Linked DNA regions of Homo sapiens: regions 1, 3 and 4 are each linked to region 2. Evidence: promoter capture Hi-C in 16 types of primary human blood cells and fetal thymus (Javierre and others, 2016). All regions are on one chromosome and are shown on one strand. Each heading gives the region's core, a stretch centred on a gene start or on the middle of the fragment in contact. The rest is flanking DNA. Distances are from core to core; before and after follow the strand shown.

What was found. Contacts are between HindIII fragments. The CHiCAGO score rates a contact against its expected background, and 5 or more counts as called.
Region 1: a fragment that was not itself captured here is called in contact with the fragment with the promoter of SP9 in region 2 in 1 of 17 cell types (M2 macrophages); the score reaches 6.1 in M2 macrophages.
Region 3: a fragment that was not itself captured here is called in contact with the fragment with the promoter of SP9 in region 2 in 1 of 17 cell types (M2 macrophages); the score reaches 5.2 in M2 macrophages.
Region 4: a contact is called between a fragment that was not itself captured here and the fragment with the promoter of SP9 in region 2, in 1 of 17 cell types (M2 macrophages). The highest score is 6.5, in M2 macrophages.

What each region holds. Positions count from the first base shown.
Region 1 is chr2:174,129,141-174,132,087 of GRCh38, reverse strand. All of the region lies in intron 5 of OLA1 (Obg like ATPase 1), which reads left to right. Among named protein-coding and RNA genes, the nearest start is that of LINC01960, 110 kb to the right of the region's middle. The HindIII fragment of the contact is 756 bases long and covers 1,216-1,971 here.
Region 2 is chr2:174,333,636-174,336,439 of GRCh38, reverse strand. It overlaps SP9 (Sp9 transcription factor), which reads right to left and starts at 1,486. Exons shown (of 2, transcript NM_001145250.2): 1 at 1,327-1,486; 2 at 1-333. The coding sequence starts at 1,347. It overlaps LOC102724194 (a long non-coding RNA gene), which reads left to right and starts at 1,464. Exons shown (of 3, transcript XR_427194.5): 1 at 1,464-2,700. The HindIII fragment of the contact is 13,141 bases long and covers 1-2,804 here.
Region 3 is chr2:174,112,265-174,115,177 of GRCh38, reverse strand. All of the region lies in intron 7 of OLA1 (Obg like ATPase 1), which reads left to right. Among named protein-coding and RNA genes, the nearest start is that of LINC01960, 88 kb to the right of the region's middle. The HindIII fragment of the contact is 2,394 bases long and covers 415-2,808 here.
Region 4 is chr2:174,175,381-174,178,080 of GRCh38, reverse strand. All of the region lies in intron 4 of OLA1 (Obg like ATPase 1), which reads left to right. Among named protein-coding and RNA genes, the nearest start is that of OLA1, 72 kb to the left of the region's middle. The HindIII fragment of the contact is 3,940 bases long and covers 1-2,700 here.

The sequences.
Region 1 (2,947 bases), core at 344-2,843, 200 kb after region 2:
AAATGAGTGTAAAAAGAAATAAAAAATGTAAATAGTCTTATATCTATCAAAGAAATCGAACTCATAATTTTAAACCTTACTATAAAGAAATGTCCTGACCCAGATGACTTTACTATACATGTAAAGTCTCAATCACACTCTTCCATACAGTAGAAAAAGAGGAAAAACTTGTGTGAGGTCAGAATAGTCCTGATACCAAAATCTTACAATGTAAGAGAGAAAAATTATAGGTGAATCTCTTTCATGAACATAAAAGGCCATTCCTCAGAGAAAGAAGATATTTGCAGCATCTAACAAAGAATTCCTACAAATAAATAAGAAAAAGACAGCCTGATAGAAAAATATGCAGAGACTTCACAAGTACTTCACAAAAGAAGAAATTCCTCATTAATCACCACAGAAATGCAAATTCAGACTACGGTGAGATACCATACACTTGCCATAAATTAATAAGACTGACAATACCAAGTGTTGGGAAGAATGTGAAGCAAATGAAATTGTCATACAGTGCTGATGGGAGTATAAATTAGTACATCTGCTTTTGAAAATTTATTAGCAATATGTATGAAGTTTGGATAAATACCTGACCTACAACCAAGCAATTCCAGTCTTAGGTATATACTCAAGAGAAATGCATGCACAAATTTACCAAAATATATGTACAAGAATGTTTATAGCAACTTTATTCCTAATAGCCTTAAAGTGTAAACAGCCTAGATGTCCATTAACAGTAGAATGTATAAATTGTGCACTATTCCTACAGTGAAATATTATACCACAGAGAAAAACACAATACTGCTACATGGAATGACATGGATGAATTCACAAATAATATTGAGCAGAAGAAGCCAGACGCAAAGTAATATATATTGTGTGATTATTTCTATAAGTTTCAATAACAGGCTAATTTGTGATGCAAAGAAGCCAGAAGTAGTGATTATCTCTGAAGAGGAGTGGAACATTGTAACTGTACTACTAATAATCTTCTATATGTTGATCAGGGTGGTAATTACAGACGTGTTCATTCTCTGGTAGTTCATTTGGGCACTTAGATATGTTATACTGAATGTATTTATTTTCCTACTTTGATTTTGGTTTCATTAAAAATATTTGTACTTTTATCAACTCTCTAGATATATCTCATCCATTTTTTTCTAACCTCACTGTTCTCTTTTTGTGACCTCGAGTGCATTGTTGGCTGTCTTTGTTAAAGCTTCCTAACCAGCATAAGTCAGTTCATCTGCTCCTATTGTGTAGATGCTCTTATCTTTTTGCATTCTACTAAGTATGACAAATAATTCATTGAGGTTTTTTTGTTTCTCAGTCATTTTTAAAGATGTGTTTTTTCTATGACTCTACTTTCCATAAATTATCAGTATTCCTTTTATTAAAATCAGATTTGTTGGCTTCCCCACAACTTCCAGACCCTTCCTCAAACATGGTAAAATGCATTCAAACTTATTTTCAGGAATCATAGGGACAGTTGCCTTCTTCTCTTTACTAATAGCCAGATCCTTTGCTGAGATCTATGCCTCAGAAGTAAATTGGTGTCCATTTTGGTTGCCACTTTATTGCAGACAGGGGCCAGGAACATTATATTCTGGGGGTGGTCTTACTATCTACTTCAGTGAATCATATAACTGAAAGCCTACAATTGGCAGCATGTATTCTACCAAGGTTATTGCTAGAATTAGCCTATTGTGTTAATTCTTGGGGGGTTCCCCTCACCCCCATACACGCATAGTCATGTAGAGCATTACTGCTAGTTCCATTCATTATTGCCCAATCCTTTTCTGGGAGTTTCAGTCATTCAGGTATATAGAAAGATGTTGTCCAGGGATCAGTACTCCTGCCTCCATAAATAGCAGCATTTATCTAGTAGAGCAACAAATGCTTAATACTGTGATTCAGAGAGATCCCAAACATCATTAGTAGAATACACAGTGGAGGTCTATTTTATAAGAGAAAGCTTAGTTTGATTTTTTTTCTTCAATTTCGGGTGTTTAAAGGGAATAGTTGGAGGATGCTGTATTAGTGGACTTCTAGCGACTGTTTTGAACCGGAAGCCTTGCCCTAATTCTTGTAGTCTGAGTGCATTGTTGGCTGTCTTTGTTAAAGCTACCTAACCAGCATAAGTCAGTTCATCTGGATATCAGCATTAGAATTGTGGTGACAGGTTTTCCTGAAGGTAAGTATAACTTGGAAGTTATAATTATTACAGAATAAGAGTGAGTCACCCTGATAAACCACCAAGTCTATCCATTTAGCCATCAAATTTTAGGATTACAGATGGTGGACAGAGAATAGATGAAGTTTCCCCTCTCCCCTTACCCTGTGAATATACCTTTATTTTTTTCCTATTATAACAGTGATATTTGTTGGTTAAAATTTTTTAAAATGTTGTAGTTTTAAAAAGAAGGCAGAAAGGGAAAAGCTGTCTGGCATCTAACCTTCTAGAGATTTCTATTGCTAATTATTTAGTGTGTTATCTAACCAGTTTCATTATTTGAGTATGTCTATTTATATATATTATATATAGTTTCAAAACCATAAATGGAATCACATTATGCATTCTGCCATAAATATTATTTATTTATTTATTTATTTATTTATTTATTTATTTATTTATTGAGACGGAGTCTCGCTGTGTTGCCCAGGCTGGAGTGCAGTGGCACCATCTTGGCTCACTGCAAGCTCCGCCTCCCGGGTTCACACCATTCTCCTGCCTCAGCCTCCCGAGTAGCTGGGACTACAGGCACCTGCCACCACACCTGGCTAATTTTTTGTATTTTTAGTAGAGACGGGGTTTCACTGTGTTAGCCAGGATGGTATCGATCTCCTGACCTCGTGATCCGCCTGCCTCGGCCTCCCAAAGTGCTGGGATTACAGGCGTGAGCCACTGCGCCCAGCTCCATAAATATTATTATTTATTGAGTATTTACTGTGT
Region 2 (2,804 bases), core at 237-2,736:
TGCCGCCGCGGCAGCCGCCGAGTTGGAGAAGAGGCCGCCGTAGTCGCTGCTGAAGGCGGACGACGTGGGCGACGTGGAGGCCAGGCAGAAGGCGCTGTTGGCGGCGCCCGAGCCGCCCGCCAGGCCGCCCGAGCCACGGCCCCCGGTGGCCACCGCGAAGCCCGAGAGGCTGGAGCCGAGGTTGCAGCTGGACGAGGAGCGCTTCCAGGGGTGAAAGCCGCCTTTGGCGAAGGCGCTCGACTCTGGCAGCGTCGTCAGCGGGCTCGTGTTGCCGATCTTGTTGCAGGTCGCCGCCAGCATGGCCAACGGGGTCGTTCCGAAGCGCGGCTCTTCCTAGAGTGGGTGGGATGGGGGAGGGAGCAAGAAGGAGGAGGGCAAGAGGAAGTGGGGGAAGAAACAAAGTGCACCCGTGAGCAGCCTCGTCCCCTGCGGCTGCTCCCGGGGGGTCCTGGCTCCCCGCCTCGCGCCTCCTCCCCACGCGCCCGCGGAGGAGTCGCCGCACCGGGCGCGGAGCAGGGGCGATCACCCGGGCGAAGGTCCAGGCGCCGGAAAGTTGCACTTCGCTGAGGCTATAAATCAAAGATGCCTCCGTGTTCCCCGCTGCAACCCTGCCTACAACCGGACTTGGGTTGTCGCCGTAAACCGGCTCATCTCCCAGAAGACCCCAAGTCGCCCTTCGGGGTGAAGCGCGAAGGTAAACACAGAGACCAGAGACAACAAACACCGGGTGAGGGCGGAGGCGGCCGAAACAGCTGCCAGGGACGGGCGAAACTTGCAGCTCTCCCAGGGTGGCTACGACTTGACTTTTCTTTTTTAATAGAAAACGTTTGGTTTTAAAGTTTACATACACACAAAAACAGCGATTATGAAAACAATAATCCGAGGATAAGCGGCCAGAGACAGATTTCAAAGTCATGGGCGAATTGGGGAGCCGCGGAAATGTAAATGTTTATTAGCGTGACTAGATGGACTGCAAAACGATTAAGACTGTTTTCTGGAAACACCATTGTCGCATAATTGCAACAAAATCCCCAAAGCAATGCGGGGGATGGGGTATAAATCACGAGGGGAAGAAAAGAAACCTCTAGCTTTTTTTTGAAACCAAATGAAAAAGGACTTGATTAAGAAGGCCTTTTCTTGCAAAGGCATCTTTCTGGGTTCCAAAAACTTGGGGAAAAATCAGTCCCAGAAATGTGGAAAGTGCTAATAGAAGCTGAAGCTGCAGTCTAGCAGCAACAGTTTCTCCGGAGCCGCAGACCCCAGAAGCCATAACGAAAAATTACTCCGGTTAAAACAAGCAAATGCGTTGCCGCGCTTGCGACTTACCCCGAGTATAGACGTGGCCATAGCAGGTCTCTGGCTGCGCAGCGAGGCTGGGAGCGGGGCTGAGCCTGGCGGCTGCTCGGAAAAACTGCTTGGGTCCCGCGCGGCTCCCGCGTCCCCGCGCTCGTGCCGAGCGGACTCCAGGCTCCCGCCGGCTAAACTCAGCCTAAGTGCGAGGAGCACCCGCTTTGAAGTGCCGCTGGCTGCGCCTCTCGCCCAATGAGGGCGCAGGCAGAGCAGACCGGAGCTGCCCCGCAGCCAATCAGACGCTCCGAGGGGCCCGAGCCCGGGCTCCCGGCGCGTGCCAGTCAAGTCAGCTAGCTAGGGCCGCGGGGGTGGGGGGGAGTAGTGGGGGATACTTGCGGGGGGGGGGCGAGGGCGGGCTGGGGACTGAAGAAATTACAGTGCAATTAAAAATTTACACTCACGCACCAAGCCAGGTTTAAGTACCAATGAAACCGAGCCACAAGCACCCCCCCACACACAAACCACCCCGAGATGTTGCAAGTTAGGGCTGACAGTCCTACTCGACTCCCCACTTGTAGGAAAGGAGGCAGGAGGGGAGGAGACACCCAGACACAGCCCGCACCAGCAGGGCCCAAGTGGAGACGGAAATGTGAGCCCTCACTTTGTGTGTCCAGGCTTTTGCCTACAGAACACAACTTCAGCTTGTATCTATCATTCTTGCTTGTGATTTTTATCATTTTCGTGTGTCTTCTACCCAATTCCTTATTCCACTAGATTCAATTTCACTCTCACAGTTATACTGGGGAGGGGGCGCGAAGGGACAGCTCCTCCGAGAGGAGCGAAATAGGCCTCTCTGTACAGATCTACATCCACAGATTTGTTGGGAGGGCCTGGAGCCTGCTGCATCCCGCCATTTCCCCCCAGCGGTGTAAGTGACTTCCTAATTGTCGCTCTGGCCTCTGACCCGGGGGGTAATACAAGTGCCACTCACGCTAGAGGCTTCTGGTGGTAATTGAGGGCACCCTTTGTACGGTTTCGCCAGCGCTTAGATACCAGGTTAACCCAGTTGTCAAATATGACTAAACAGTGGGATGTGCTGATTATCTGCCGGGTTTTGCTGTGGGCTGGCATGGGGGTGGGAGGCATCAGCCCATACAACACGCTGCACGAAGCCGCTTATTTTCTCACTGTAACAACTTTGGAAACAGAGACCGGCGCGAGCGGCGTCCGCCCCCACCTCCACCTCCGCTGAAGCTGCAGCTTGCTCGGCTGTTTGTTTAACCCGGTGAAGATTTGCATGTCGCGTTTCATCCTGGAGTGGAGTTTTCTTGTCCCAGCTCCAACCCACTCCCATTCCAGACCACCAGGGCCTAGAGGCTCGTCCGTAGGGCAAGTGCGCTGTTTTAAGAGGTAGGCTCCCCATTAGTGCCCTGCTTTCACGGACGCGCCCGAGAAATCTCTCCAGGACTTTCACCCGGGAGGGCGGAGGACCAGGCCACACGTGGGCGCTTCCA
Region 3 (2,913 bases), core at 362-2,861, 220 kb after region 2:
AATTCCGAGATGACCCTCATTACACTATTACATTGGCCTTGAATTGAATGTTTACTAAAATGAAGCATTTTTTTCCTTTTCTTTTTTTTTCAGAGACAGGGTCTCACTCTCTTGACCAGGCTGGAGTGCAGTGGTGCAATCACAGCTCATTGCAGTCTGGACCTCCCTGACGGGCGCAGGCTACCACACCTGGCTAGTTTTTGTATTTTTTGTAAGAGTCAGGGTTTCCCATGTTGCCCAGGCTGGTCTAGAACTCCTTGGCTCAAGCGATCCACGTGCCTTGGCCTCTCAAAGTGCTGAGATTACAGGTGTGAACCACTATACCTGGCCAAAATGAAGCATTTGCATCATTGGAATAAGAGTTCTGCATATTAGTTTAGGAATGGGTTACTCCAACAGAGAGAGAAATAAGCTTTGTCTTTTCATTAGCAAAGATTTAGCAGTGCCTTTTCAGTACTTTAAATATTTGTCATTGAAATCAAGGGGTAGTCATCAGTATTCCTGGGTGATAATCAGCATTTTCCTTAGAGATTCTTTTAAAAGAATGTATTATGGGGCTGTGGGAAATGTTGTTGGATTTAATCCATTTTGAAATTTAAAAGGAAAAGATCAAATAGCATCTGTTCATTGGTAATCATTTTTAGCCTTTTTAAATGAAATTTTAAAAGATTTTTCCCCAGGAACGTATATGGATGTCCAACATGAAGGTCACTAGCAGTTTTCAAACATGACTTTTAAGTTTTGTCATTTTTCTTTTGTATGTCCTGCTTCCCCGCTTCCTCCATTTAATATAATTGATTTAGCTTTTTTTTTTTTTTTTTTTTTTTTTTTTTTTTGAGGCGGAGTCTTGCTCTGTCGCCCAGGCTGGAGTGCAGTGGCGCGATCTCTGCCCACTGCAAGCTCCTCCTCCCGGGTTCACGCCATTCTCCTGTCTCAGCCTTCCGAGTAGCTGGGACTACAGGCGCCCGCCACCAGGCTGGCTAATTTTTTTTTTTTTTTTTTTTTGTATTTTTAGTAGAGACAGGGTTTCACCGTGTTAGCCAGGATGGTCTTGATCTCCTGACCTCGTGATCCGCCCGTCTCAGCCTCCCAAAGTGCTGGGATTACAGGCATGAGCCACCGCGCCCGGCCGATTTAGCTTTTCTTATACCAAACTAAAAGACATACATAGCAAACCATTATTTATTGTTGAGTTCCTGCTATGTGATGGGCATTCTGAGCTTGGAAATTGCTGAGATGTATGATATTATACTTATCAAGCAGATATTATCATGCCCATTTTACAGATAGGGCAGGCGGTTGGAAAGATTATAAAACATGCCCAAGTTCTTGGAGCAGGTAAGTGGTAGAAATAGATCCATTTGACCTGAATGCGACTGTTCCACACAGGATGACTGACAGCTAAGCGACAGTACAAGATATGTTTGTGAATCTCCAGAAATCTTTGAAAATATCACGTCAGCAACTTTAGCATTTTGCTTTGTTTTATCTCAGAAAGTTTAATCTCCATCCAATTGTTTAGTTAATAAACTAAATTAGGATTTTAGTTAAAAAGAACAATTCTCAAGACAACATTTGTGGGTTTTTTTTTAGGATAATAAGCATTTGCTGCTGCTGTTTTTGCCTTGTCTCGTAATTTTATTAACTATTTAATAACATTGTTAAGAGGCAACAGCAATATATTTTAGGACCCACCTTAGCTTGCATTTTTACGCAATATCATGTATAAAAATTTTGGTGGAGAAAATACAATGGCTCTTATTGAAACCGAAATTAAAAATTATATGAAATTGCCAAGTCTAAAATAGTGGTACAGAATAAACCCCCCAAAAACATACCTGTAACCACAGATTGGTTTTTATATATTGATATGATAAACAGGATTTAACTTTTTCTGTTATAGCAAACCATAATTTGTTAAAAATAATTATTTGACTGGGCACAGTGGCTTAAGCCTGTAATCCCAGCACTTTGGGAGGTTGAGAAGGGTGGATCACCTGAGGTCAGGAGTTTGAGATCAACCTGACCGACATGGTGAAACCCCATCTCTACTTAAAAAATACAAAAAAATTAGCTGGGCTTGGTGGCGGGCACCTGTAATCCCAGCTACTCGGGAGGCTGAGGCAGGAGAATCGCTTGAGCCTGGGAGATGGAGGTTGCAGTGAGTCAAGATCATGCCATTGCACTCCAGCCTGGGCAACAAGAGTGAATCTCCATCTCAAAAATAGTAATAATAATAATTCTTCAGTGATGGGGTGAGGGAGTTGATGTTATAGAAATAGGGAAATGAGAGAATATCACGTGTTAGTTTGTTTTCTGCTGCTGTAACAGATACCACAGACTAGGTAATTTATAAAGAAGAGAAATTTATTTGGTTCATGGTTCTGGAGCCCAGGAAGCCTGAGAGTATGTCACTGGCATCTTCTGAGGGTCATCCCATGGCAGAAGAGCAGAAGGCAGAAACAAGTGGGAGACAGAGAGCAAAGTGGGTCAAACTCATTCTCTGTATCAGGAGTCCACTCCTGAAATAACTAACCTACTCCCATGATTACAGCATTAATTGCTTCATAAGGGGTGAGCCCTCATGACCTAGCCACCTCTTAAAGGTCCCACTTCCCAATCCCATTGCACTGGGGGCTTAGGATTCCTAACACACGAACCTTGGGGGGCACATTCAAACCACAGCACTATGAGGTAGAGCAATGGCAGATAATTTGTATGCCTAATGTTGTATTTGTAGTAGTCGTCATTCAGTCAACACTTCACACTTGACCTTATGCCAGTTATATTTAAGATTCCCAACAAGCTTGTAAAGTAGGTGCCATTATTACCCACATTTTAAGGAAATGAAAAGCAAGTATGGAGAGATTAAGGAACTTGGCCAAAGTTACATAACCAGTCAGTGGTGCCGAC
Region 4 (2,700 bases), core at 107-2,606, 160 kb after region 2:
AAATGTACAGCTTTTTTATGTGGTTTAATTCAGTGTTTTAAAAATAGGGCTAGTATATTTTGAAATCACTAGAGAATTAGTTGAATTGGGGAAAAGTCAACAACTTTTTGTAAATTAAGTTTTTTTTGAGATCTATTCTTTCCTTTTAATTGATATTAATTTCCTGAGGAGTTGATATTAATTTTCTGATTAATCATTTTAGGTTGTATCTGAAAAAAATTTAAGAAATCCAAATGTATTTGATTTTATTAAGCTGGCTGACTTTGTCAAAAGTCTGGAAAAACTTTAAGAAATCCAGATGTACTTGATTTTATTAAGCTGGCTGACTTTGTCAAAAGTCTGAAAAAAATTTAAGAAATCCAAATGTACTTGATTTTATTAAGCTAGCTGACTTTGTCAAAAGTCCATTGCTATTTGCTTAAGGTTTCTAGCTTTTGCAGCAGTGAATAATAGTGCTCTTAAATTGGATTTATGCTAACTTTTAAGAAACATATTTGTTCCAAGCAGTCTAAGAAGTGCAGAGATGCATGTCAATATTCAGAATTCATATTTTCCTTGAACAGAAGGTTGTGATAAAATGGCACATGGTATGTTTTCATTGCCTGTTGAAAGACTTTCATGCAGTTAAAATAAGCATTTTGATGGTGGTTGAATTAAGAGTTTTTGTCAGTCTCTTCTCATCATGGATGATTAGACTAAAACGTCTGCTTGTCTTGACTTGAGATCACCACAGCTTCAGATAACATGCTTTGTGATTGAAGGTCGAAATATTTTGAATTCTAATAGGCTGCCAGATGAATTGCTTGAAATAGACTGTAAAATTTCAAGGCTTCCTTTTCCATCTGCTGTGAAAAGAACCATTGGGAATGGTTGAGCTTGATGATCATAGAATTACTGGATGGTGATTCTAAAACCCTCAAAGGGAAGTTGCTATGGAGATCTAGTTCCAAACTGTGAAATGATTCACCTTTGAAAGGCTGCAGGGTCTGAGAAGCTGAACACATCATTGTTCAGGTGGTCATTGGTTAGGAAATTGCTGGTGCCTGTGTAATCAGCACTCCTGTGGTAGTTAACGATCTAAAAAGGTTTGTTCTGAATGATGTGGGACAACAGCAATGTGCATAAGATGGCTTCTCTCAATCATGGTTTGCTCAGTCTGGTGCTTGTAAAAATACAGCAAACTAAATAGCACAGAAATGAATTGCTTTATTGAGGGAATCTTTTGAAAACAAAATTTTGAATTGATGAGTTTAGCATCTAAAATAAAATGGTTCTTTTTGAAAATAAAGTTTTCGCAGAAACATGCATTGTTTACTTTATTTTAATTCATCCCCATACCTCCCACTTTTTTGTGGTAAAGAGCTCTTTGTCTCTCTAGGTGTAAGACCTTACCACGGTGAAATGTTTAGCTTTTAATATCCTAGAGTACTATTTCAAGAGCCTTCTTGCATAAGCACAGGGGCACCTGAGAAGGAGTTTAGAAAAGCCCCTGGTCATTGAGAATGAGTCTAGGAAAATCCCCAAATCATTAGAAGTAGAAAGTAATTAATCCCCTATAGCAAATTGGTTCCCCTCAAATTGTTTTTTATTATGCATATTTGTGACATGTATTTTAAATTGATATTTTTTCCAATTTTTGTTTTTATTAAATCAACTTTTGTTTTTATTTCCAGAAACCTGAGGCCAAAATAATTTTTGAAATTCATTTAACAGCAAATTATTATAAACTGCTATTCTCCCATATTAAGATTTCAGAATAGGTAAAATTCAATCTTAGTTAATTTCATATCAGCCTATAATGTTGAACTTTAGTAATCAAGTATGAAACCTTATCAAAGATAATGTATGTATATCAAGTTTGTCTGTATGGTGTCTTCTCCAGACATCATTAAGGTAAAATATACATGTAACAAAAATCATATATTCTTAGTGTACAGTTTGATGAAGTTTATTGTACACAGTCGTAGATCTACTGTCACAGTCAAAATACACAATGTTTCAATCATCCTAAAATGTTTATTTGTGTCCTTTTGCAGTTGATCCTCTCCCCTAACCCTTATGCTTAAGTACTCACTGATCTGCTTTCTATTGTTGCATTTTTATCATATTTAGAATTTCATGTAGTATCATATAGTATGTAGTTTTTTCTGTTTGACTTTTTTTAGATCTAGCATAATGTTTTTGATATTCATTCATATTGTGTACGTTAATACTTTCTTATTACTATGTAGCCTTTAATATTATCACTTTGCTTATCCATTCATTAACTGGTGGACATTTGAATTGTTTCCAGTTTTTATTGTTACGAATTATTTGTGTAGAAATGTTTGTATGGATATATGTTTCTATTTCTTTTGGGTAAATATCTAGAAATGGGATAGCTGAAGTGTATGGTAACTGTATGTTTAGCTTTATAAAATACTGCCATACTGTTTTCCAAAGTGACTGTAACATTTTGATTTCACACCAGCAATATGAGTTCCAGTTCCTCCACATCCTTTCTAGCACTTGATATTGTCAATTGTTTCTAGTTTAGGCATTATAGAGAATATTGTGGCTTTCATTTCTATTTTCCAGCCTATTAGTGATGACCATCTTTTCATTTGCTTACTTCCAAACTGTATATCTTCTTTGGTGAAGTATCTGTCTAAATCTTTTGTCCATTTTTAATTGGATTGTTTGTCTTATTTTGATCCAGTA